Linked DNA regions of Homo sapiens: all the other regions are linked to region 2. The links are contacts of gene promoters, found by promoter capture Hi-C in blood cells and fetal thymus (Javierre and others, 2016). All regions are on one chromosome and are shown on one strand. The core of a region is centred on a gene start or on the middle of the fragment in contact, and the rest is flanking DNA. Distances in the headings are between cores, read along the strand shown.

Evidence for each region. Contacts are between HindIII fragments. The CHiCAGO score rates a contact against its expected background, and 5 or more counts as called.
Region 1: a fragment that was not itself captured here is called in contact with the fragment with the promoter of BTBD16 in region 2 in 3 of 17 cell types (M1 macrophages, endothelial precursors and total B cells); the score reaches 6.8 in M1 macrophages.
Region 3: a fragment that was not itself captured here is called in contact with the fragment with the promoter of BTBD16 in region 2 in 1 of 17 cell types (M1 macrophages); the score reaches 5.5 in M1 macrophages.

The regions. Positions count from the first base shown.
Region 1 is chr10:122,545,934-122,548,633 of GRCh38, reverse strand. No RefSeq gene overlaps it. Among named protein-coding and RNA genes, the nearest start is that of DMBT1, 13 kb to the left of the region's middle. The HindIII fragment of the contact is 1,095 bases long and covers 726-1,820 here.
Region 2 is chr10:122,270,046-122,272,745 of GRCh38, reverse strand. BTBD16 (BTB domain containing 16) reads right to left here and starts at 1,450. Exons shown (of 16, transcript NM_144587.5): 1 at 1,232-1,450. The HindIII fragment of the contact is 5,650 bases long and covers 1-1,477 here.
Region 3 is chr10:122,662,190-122,664,889 of GRCh38, reverse strand. No RefSeq gene overlaps it. Among named protein-coding and RNA genes, the nearest start is that of SPADH, 9.3 kb to the left of the region's middle. RefSeq lists an enhancer at 1-195. The HindIII fragment of the contact is 159 bases long and covers 1,320-1,478 here.

The DNA.
Region 1 (2,700 bases), core at 24-2,523, 280 kb before region 2:
CAGTATATAAGCATCATCGGGTGTGTTGGTTTAAAATTTGCATGCCTGGGCCTCACACCCCACGGATTTTCATATGCTAAGGTTGATATAAGGCCTAGAGATTTTTTTCAAGCTTCCCAGGTTATTTTAATTGTGGTGAAATAGACACAATTCCCAGGCGAAGGTGATGCATGGCCAGGTGTGTGAGAACTGAGGCCTACAGATGCTGAGCATGCCCGCCTGGCTACAAACCCAGGTGGAGATTCACATTGATGCAGTCTCATATTCATTTGGGAATAGAAGAAAGGAAGTTTGGGCTGCAAGGCAGTGATCTCAAAGAGCTCATAGAGGACTCTGTATTTAATTCAGTAGGAAATGGGGAGCTCTGGCAGGTTCTTGACGAATTTTATAAAGTGGTCAGAGATGAATTTTATAAAGACAGAAGATAGAATAAGAAATGGCGGTGTGTCTGTATTGAGATGCATGGAGATGCACACATTTCTTGAGCACAACTGCACCAAATAGCCTGTGCCAGGGGTCTGGAAAGCTGCAATCCCAGCCTGAGGAATTTATAATCCAGCTGGGGAGAAAAGTCACTGGTGCGTTGGAAAATAACCGATGAAAACCACTAAGCCACTTCAAGACCTGTGAATCAGAACTGGCACTAGAGATGTGCACTACAAACCTCAGAAGACACTTGATTTTAAGAAAAAAAACTTAGGTGAAATCAAAGACCTCTGTAAGCTTGAATTTGGAGAACAGCTAAGAGTTAGATGGACGATAGTGAAAGATTTCTGAGACAGTACCTGGCAGTGCCTAGACATTCATAAGTTCGAATCTTCATTTATGTCATGGATTACTTTTTTAGAAATAGAAAACCACTGGTTGTTTTGAATTATTACTTGAAGAAATTGTTTTTTAAATTTAAAGGTGAAAATAAAGCCACTAACAGAGCCCAGGTTGTCTGTCATGCTGTATCAGGAGGGCAGCATGTGCCAGTGCCTGGCAGAAGCCAGGACTGCATGGATTTGAGGGATTGGATGACGCTTCCCAGAGCAGTGTAGGGCTTACTCTGGGCCCCATGGGATGCTGTCAAGATGATCCTTCACATTCCTGGGAAACATGTCCTCAGATCTTACAAGTGTCTGACCACAAACCACTTTAGAAAATTCCAGGCCAGGCACGGTGCCTCACACCTGTAATCCCAGCACTTTGGGAGGCCGAGGCAGATGAATTACTGGAGCCCAGGAGTTCGAGACAACGTGACAAAACCTGGGCAACGTGACAAAACCTTGTCTCTACAAAAAAATTAGCTGGGCGTGGTGGAGCACACCTATAGTCCCAGCTACTTGTAGGGGGCTAAAGCAAGAGATCGCTTGAGCCTAGGAGGTCGAGGCTGCAAAGAGCCAAGATCATGCCACTGTACTGCAGCCTGGGTAACAAAGTGAGAGCCTGTCTCAAAAAAAAAAAAAAAAAAGAAAGAAAGAAAAGAAGAAAGAAAATTCTAATGTCTTGACAAGAAAGCAGTTAGCATGAGTTTAAAATGAGGTATAATTTGATTCATACTTGGACTTAAAATGGTCTCTTCAACAAATTGCTGCAACAAGTGATCAAAATGTAATTCCCAAACCATTTTAAATTTTACAATGAAATAACAAAAGAAAGTCTAATTTTTTTAGAAGCAAGGGCCTTGCTATGTTGCCCAGGCTGGTCTTGAACCCCTGGACTCAAGCAATCCTCTCCCCTCAGCCTCCTGAGCAAGAGTTACCATGCCTGGCTCCATTCTTTTTTTAAGGATAATATGTTTCATTTTTAAAGAGCAAAATATATTAAGGGAAGCTTTTACTTTACATTTTTTATAAAATAACCCTTCCAAACAAAGGTGTTTAAGAAGGATGATATGTTTGTATTTTTATCACATGCAGTGGAGATATTCAGATGGAAAAATCTCCACATTAATCTTCCTTGATTCAATCAAACCATGCCACAAACCTCCCATTCCCCAGTGTTGCTTAGGAGGCCCACATCCATCATCCTCAGGGGTCCTCCTGCCTCCTCGGATCATGCCAAGGTCCCAAATGTGGTCTCGTGTGCTTCAGCCCCGACCCCGTCTCTCCCTGTGGTTCTCTGACGCTGTATTGAAACCTGGTCCTCTCCAGTCTGCCCGTCACTGCAGCCTTGTAGAAGCAGATCTTGTGTGACATGCTTCCTGCCCAGGCCAGTTGGCTCAAGCAGTGGTGGGTGACTCTACTGTCCAAGCATCTGGGTTTAGTGCCCATGCCTCTGCTGGCCCCCAGGTGGCCAGCCCCAAAACTCTGCTCTGTGATTTAAAGTAACCATAGCACTCTGTTACTGAAGAAGGACCCACGCAAGTTTTCGTCCTGGAGCAGGGAAAGATACTACTAAGGCAGGAGAATGGCATGAACCCGGGAGGCAGAGGTTACAGTGAGCCGAGATCGCGCCACTGCACTCCAGCCTGGGCGACAGTGCGAGACTCCGTCTCAAAAAAAAAAAAAAAAATTAAGGTGCAAAGACAAAAAGTAAGTTTGCGTTTTGATTATACCATGGATTATGTTTATTCAATGTATCAACCATACTAGTGAATTTCTAAAGGATAAATATAACTTTCAAATAAGGCACAAAATAATAAAATGAACAACATACCATCATACATAGGCACCCACCTAATCCCAAAGGATTTATGGGTCACATGTCACCCCT
Region 2 (2,700 bases), core at 201-2,700:
TGGTAAACAAATTGTTTCATTAGTATGAAAATATGTCCTGTGTGTGTGTGTGTGTGTGTGTGTGTGTATTTCCTTTGCCAGTCTCTAATTTGAAAACATATCTGGGGCCAGGCCCAGTGGCTCATGCCTGTAATCCCAGCACTTTGGGAGGCCAAGGCAGGTGGATCACCTGAGGTCAGGAGTTCAAGACCAGCCTAACCAATATGATGAAACCTTGTCTCTACTAAAAATACAAAATTAGCTGGGTGTGGTGGCGCATGCCTGTAATCCCAGCTACTTGGGAGGCTGAGGCAGGACAGTCACTTGAACTCTGGAGGTGGAGGTTGCAGTGAGCCAAACTCTCACCATTGCACTCCAGCCTGGGAAACAAGAGCGAAACTCTGTCTCGAGGGGAAAGAAAAAAGAAAAAGAAACGTGTCTGGGTACAAACATGGCCCTGGTGTTTGTACCCAGCTGCTGGTGTCTTCATCTGCAATTGCATCCATGTATGCATGTGTGTTAAGAGCATCTTTGGCTGTTCAACCAGCTTTCAGAGGTGCACTTGAGTTTACAGCAATGTGTGTTTTCCTTGATGGCTGAGTTTCCACCTTGCGTGAGGCTTCTCCCACCTCAGGTAACACATACATGCTTTTCTGATCCCTTTACCTCACAGGAGCCAGGATGATGAACTCCTCAGCTTAAAGCCCTTCACCAGCTTCCCACTGCCCTAGACATAGACCCCCAAATCCTCAACGTGGCCTTAAGGAATCTGAGAAGAGAGAAGAGGGTTCCATTCTAAAGCAGACCTGGTCAGCACAGAATAAACCCCACACGGGACTCGCTATGCCCACAGAGCACCGCTTCAGTTACAGAGAGAGGGAGGCTGGGGTTTGCACTCAGCTACCCAAAGCTCCTGCTTTCTTAGATCAATATCTAAGAACTTTTTTAGCTGATCTTGAAATCCAGAGACATCTCAATGGCCTGGAAATGTGTTCTTTTTTCATCCCACCAGGCAATCTGCCCCTTCGTGTGTTTTGAGAGCCTGTGCCAAGGTCCCTGTGGGCGGGCAGGAGCTACCTACAATGGTCTCTCAGCTCCCAGACCCCTCCTGATTCCCTAAACTCCCTCCCTGCCAAGTAGACCAGAGGCACCCAAGTCTAACACTGGGTCTAGACAGGTGCTAAGACAGCACCTGTCACTAGGACACATTTCTTGGTCTCTGAAGTGGCTGAAAAATACCCATTGTACTTACCGTTCCAAAGCCCTTTTGCCCACCACAGGCGTGTTTACAGGGGAAGTGTGCTGAGTGGAGGAACTCCCATCACACTGGCCTCTGAGTTACAGGAGAGCTGGGGGCGCCTTCTGAGCCTGAAGCCTGGAAGCGCTCATCACATCTGGGGCTCCCCCTTTTCTTCTTATGGGCCAAGGTGCTTTGACAGGGGGAGCTTGCCTTGGTTTCCTGGGTGGTTGTGAGCACCACGGCAACGGCAGGGAAGCTTCCAAGCACTTCCTGTTCCAGGGCCAGGTTTCAACTCAGGCTCGGGCTGTGTCCAAGGCCCTGGCTGATGGGGAGAAGCTGTGAGTGATGGCATCTCAGAGACCAGTGTGGGTGCCATGTGCCTCCATTCCTGTTCCTCACAGCACCTGGGGCAACCCAGGGCACAGCCTCAGTGAGAACCAACCCCCAAATCTTCAGGCTTCATCTGTCAAAGGAGAAGATTAGACTAGAAGCTTCTCAGATGCCTCCCAGCTCTGGCATTCTGGGGTGCTCTATTTCTAGCATTTTCTATCTGTGTTTTGACAAACATATTTCAATAAAAATTGAGCATTCCGCATTATTAAAAGCTATGCCTAATGAAGTACTTTGCTGATGATGATTTTTAATGCTGCTCTCTCTGGGAGCTAAGGACTGCCTAAAAGTCAAGGACAAGACCAAGAGCCTTCAAGCTGGCATCCAGAGTGGAAATGTTTGGGATTTGTTTGTTTTGTTTTGCTTTTTTTTTTTCTCTGAGATGGAGTCTCACTCTATCGCCCAGGCTGGAGTGCAGTGGTGTGATCTTGACTCACTGCAACCTCCGCCTCCTAGGTTCACCGGGTTCAAGCAATTCTTGTGCCTCAGCCTCCTGAATAGCTGGGATCACAGGTGCCCGCCACCACACCGGCCTAATTTTTGTATTTTTAGTAGAGACAGGGTTTCACCATATTAGCCAGGCTGGTCTCGAACTCCTGACCTCAGGTGATCTGCCCACCTCGGCCTCCCAAAGTGCTGAGATTACAGGTGTGAGCCACCGCACCTGGCCCTAAGTGCAATCTTACAGTGTCCTCAGCGACGTGGCCTGTGAAGCCCATGACCCAAACTAGGGGATGGGGAGGTGGAGGCCATGTGGGTCAGAGTCACATGGGTCACCACGGGTCCATCAAAGGCCTGGACCACCACCCCAGGGATCACAGAAATCCCTAGTTACAGTAATAGGAACCAGGAGGCAGTACAGCTTTTAAGACCCAAGGCCAGCCTCTCCTAGGCCACATACATCCTAAAGTAAAACGGGAAAGTAGCTGCGCTGCCTCCTGTGGCTGTGATCTAGAAACTACGAAACACTCTATAAATGGGAGGTACCCCTGAATTTGTCTCCCGCCTCAGCCCTCAAATCCTGTGATTCTACTCCTCCCAACACCATATTCTGCTTTGCACAGAAGCCGATCGCTGTGGAATGTTCTGTG
Region 3 (2,700 bases), core at 150-2,649, 390 kb before region 2:
TTCCAGGAAGGAGACCCCTAAGAGGTCCAGCCTCATGTCTGAGCCTCTCAAATGCTCCACCCAGCCGTCCTGCCCCAAACCACCCCAGTGCACACATCTCTGCACCAGCAATGCCTACAGGGCCCATGAGGAAGTGCCTCTCTCTCCTTGTCCTTCAGTTCGCCCCACTCAGGTGACTCCACTCCTGGTCATGGAACCTGCCCAGCACGTCCTTTGCAGTCTTCCCAGACCTCCCCATGCCGGAGGCCAGGCCTGAGCTCCACCTCACTGGGAAGCCTGGTGTGATCAGCGCATGTGGGGCCGACCTCAGACCTCACAGTGTCTGCAGCTTCCACCCATTGCCTGGTGGACGTGTCGGGGGCCATTGCTTCTTGTGCTGCCACTTGACTCTGTGTGAGCTGGTTTCAGTACTCAACTGAATACAAGCCTCTGGGGATACAGACTGGGCATTATTCTACTCATGTGTCAACATGAGTTGCTCCAGGCTATAATCGTATGTCCCAATGCATTTTTTGTACTACCTGTACTCAATACTTGGCCACTGGAAAGCGGTCTCACCTTTTTTTCTGGCAGTCACAGAAACATCTCTATATGCAGCATGCCACTCAGCTGGCTTCCACAGAGAAGGGGAGAATCAGCAGGTTTTCCCCTTCCCCACCTACCTTCTGAGTCACTATGGTAATATGCATCCCACAAAGAATGTGGATGGTTGGCTGAAAGTTCTGTTATATGTGATGGTCATAATATTGGAAGAGGATTGGTAGGTCAGGGACATATCTTTACACATTTTGCTCAGGGATCTGGACCCCAGAGATCCATCCAAGACTTCTACCTGTTCACTCCCATAGGTGAGGCTGTGGGGCAGAGAACTGACAGGTGTCAGCATTTGGAATCAGCCTAACTCCAGCAGGCAGCTTCCTCCCCAGCGAGTGGCACCAGCTCTCATTAGCTTACTTCTCAGAAGTGCAAGGCCCGGGGCGAGCAAGGAATGGAAAGTCTAACAGCTCTTCTGCACACAGATTAGTCTCTTTCCATAACCCCTGAATAAAATAAATGTTTTCTTCACCAGGACTGCAGGCGTCTTCCGAGTGCCCTTGGAAGCCCTGCCTGTGGATGGGAATACCACTCAGGAATTTTAATTCCAGCCACCAGCTGTGTTTCAGGCCCCACAAGCTACAAAATCTGCATCTCAGGGACATGTGTTTTCAGCCACAGCCTCTGTGTCAGGATGAGATGCTCCAGACATGAGTGTGTGGATGCCACTCTGTGATTCCTGCCCTTGGCAAATAGAGGGGCAACAAGGGTCCCCAGCCCAAGCTTGGCTTCCCTGACTCAAGGCAGGGAGGGGCCTCCATTTCTTACCTACAGTGAGATATTGTGGACATGGAATGTCGCCCTCCTGAGGGGTCTCCCCACTCCTCTTACCCCCTTCAGTCTTCAAACCTGACCTCTCATCCTCAATTAGCCCCCAGCAAGCTTTATGTACATGGGAGAGTGTTTACAGCTTATTTGAAGTATGAGAAGACAGTTAAGACATATCCCATTAGGACACACACAGGGTTGACTTCATACTAGTTTTGCTTTTGGCCCAGCCTGAGTGCTTCCTTGATGCCAAGGACAGTGAGATCTAAAACCAATCTTTGAAAAGGGCAAAAGGACAATACAGGAAAATGTTCAGAGCTGCCAATCCTTCTGAGCCCGGAAAAATGGTGGCACAGGGAATTCCCAACTCCAACCTCCTTCTCTCCTTGTTTCTCCATCTTGGTCTCCTGTGCTGCAAGTCCTTTTTCAGAATCACTGGAGCCCGTGTTGGGCAAATGGTCTAAGTTCTGTATCTGAGGCAGCCATCCAAAAGATGTCCTTTGTCACACAGAGCACCTGCATAACCTTGAGGTCCCAGCCCAAAAGCCAGTGTGGAGGGAAAGGGGGACCTTAGTCACATATATTCCATCATCTTTCTCATCCACATCCTGGGTTGTGTTTGGCTTTGTCTGGAATTGATGGAAATGTGGCTGCCATGCTCAATCAAAACAGACTGTCTTGGGTATAAATGCTACAGGGTTTTCTGCCTTCTGGGATCTTATCACTGCTTTCATTCATTCAATCATTCATTCATGTATTCATTCATTAACAATTTTGCCTTGAACCCCAAAAGAGAGCTTTCATTGCAGTGGCGTCAAAGAATGAAACAAGTGTCGGTGTACATTGAAAAGACAACTCGGCCTTTTCTGAAGGTATCTAGTAGGGTGCAAAAGAAAGAGCTCTGCCCGTCTGGGAAGGAGTCACGCAGACACTACAGAAGAGCTGGGCCTCCAGCTGAATCATGAAATCCTCGTAGAGGACCCTAAGGATAGGGCAGATGAGTCTGACAGGGGTAGAAGTAGGCGTTCTCATCAGAGCCCAGTGTGAGCAATGGCATGGAGCTGCTTCACAGGTGGTGCCAGGAACCCCAGTGTGGAGGGGGCCGAGGGCAGGAGTGGGTGGAGGGGAGGAGAGGTCCAGGAGCCACATTGGGAAGTATTTTGCAATGCAGGCTAAGGAGAGAGCACCTGACCTGGAAGACAGGGAGGCACTAAATGCATTTGCAGCAGGAGTGGAAGCCTCCAATTCTATTTAGAGGCCTCTGGGTTGGGTGGGGGTAAACTGGCAAGACGCCATGTGGATTTCATCCCAGCAAACTATACCATCAACAAAGGAAAT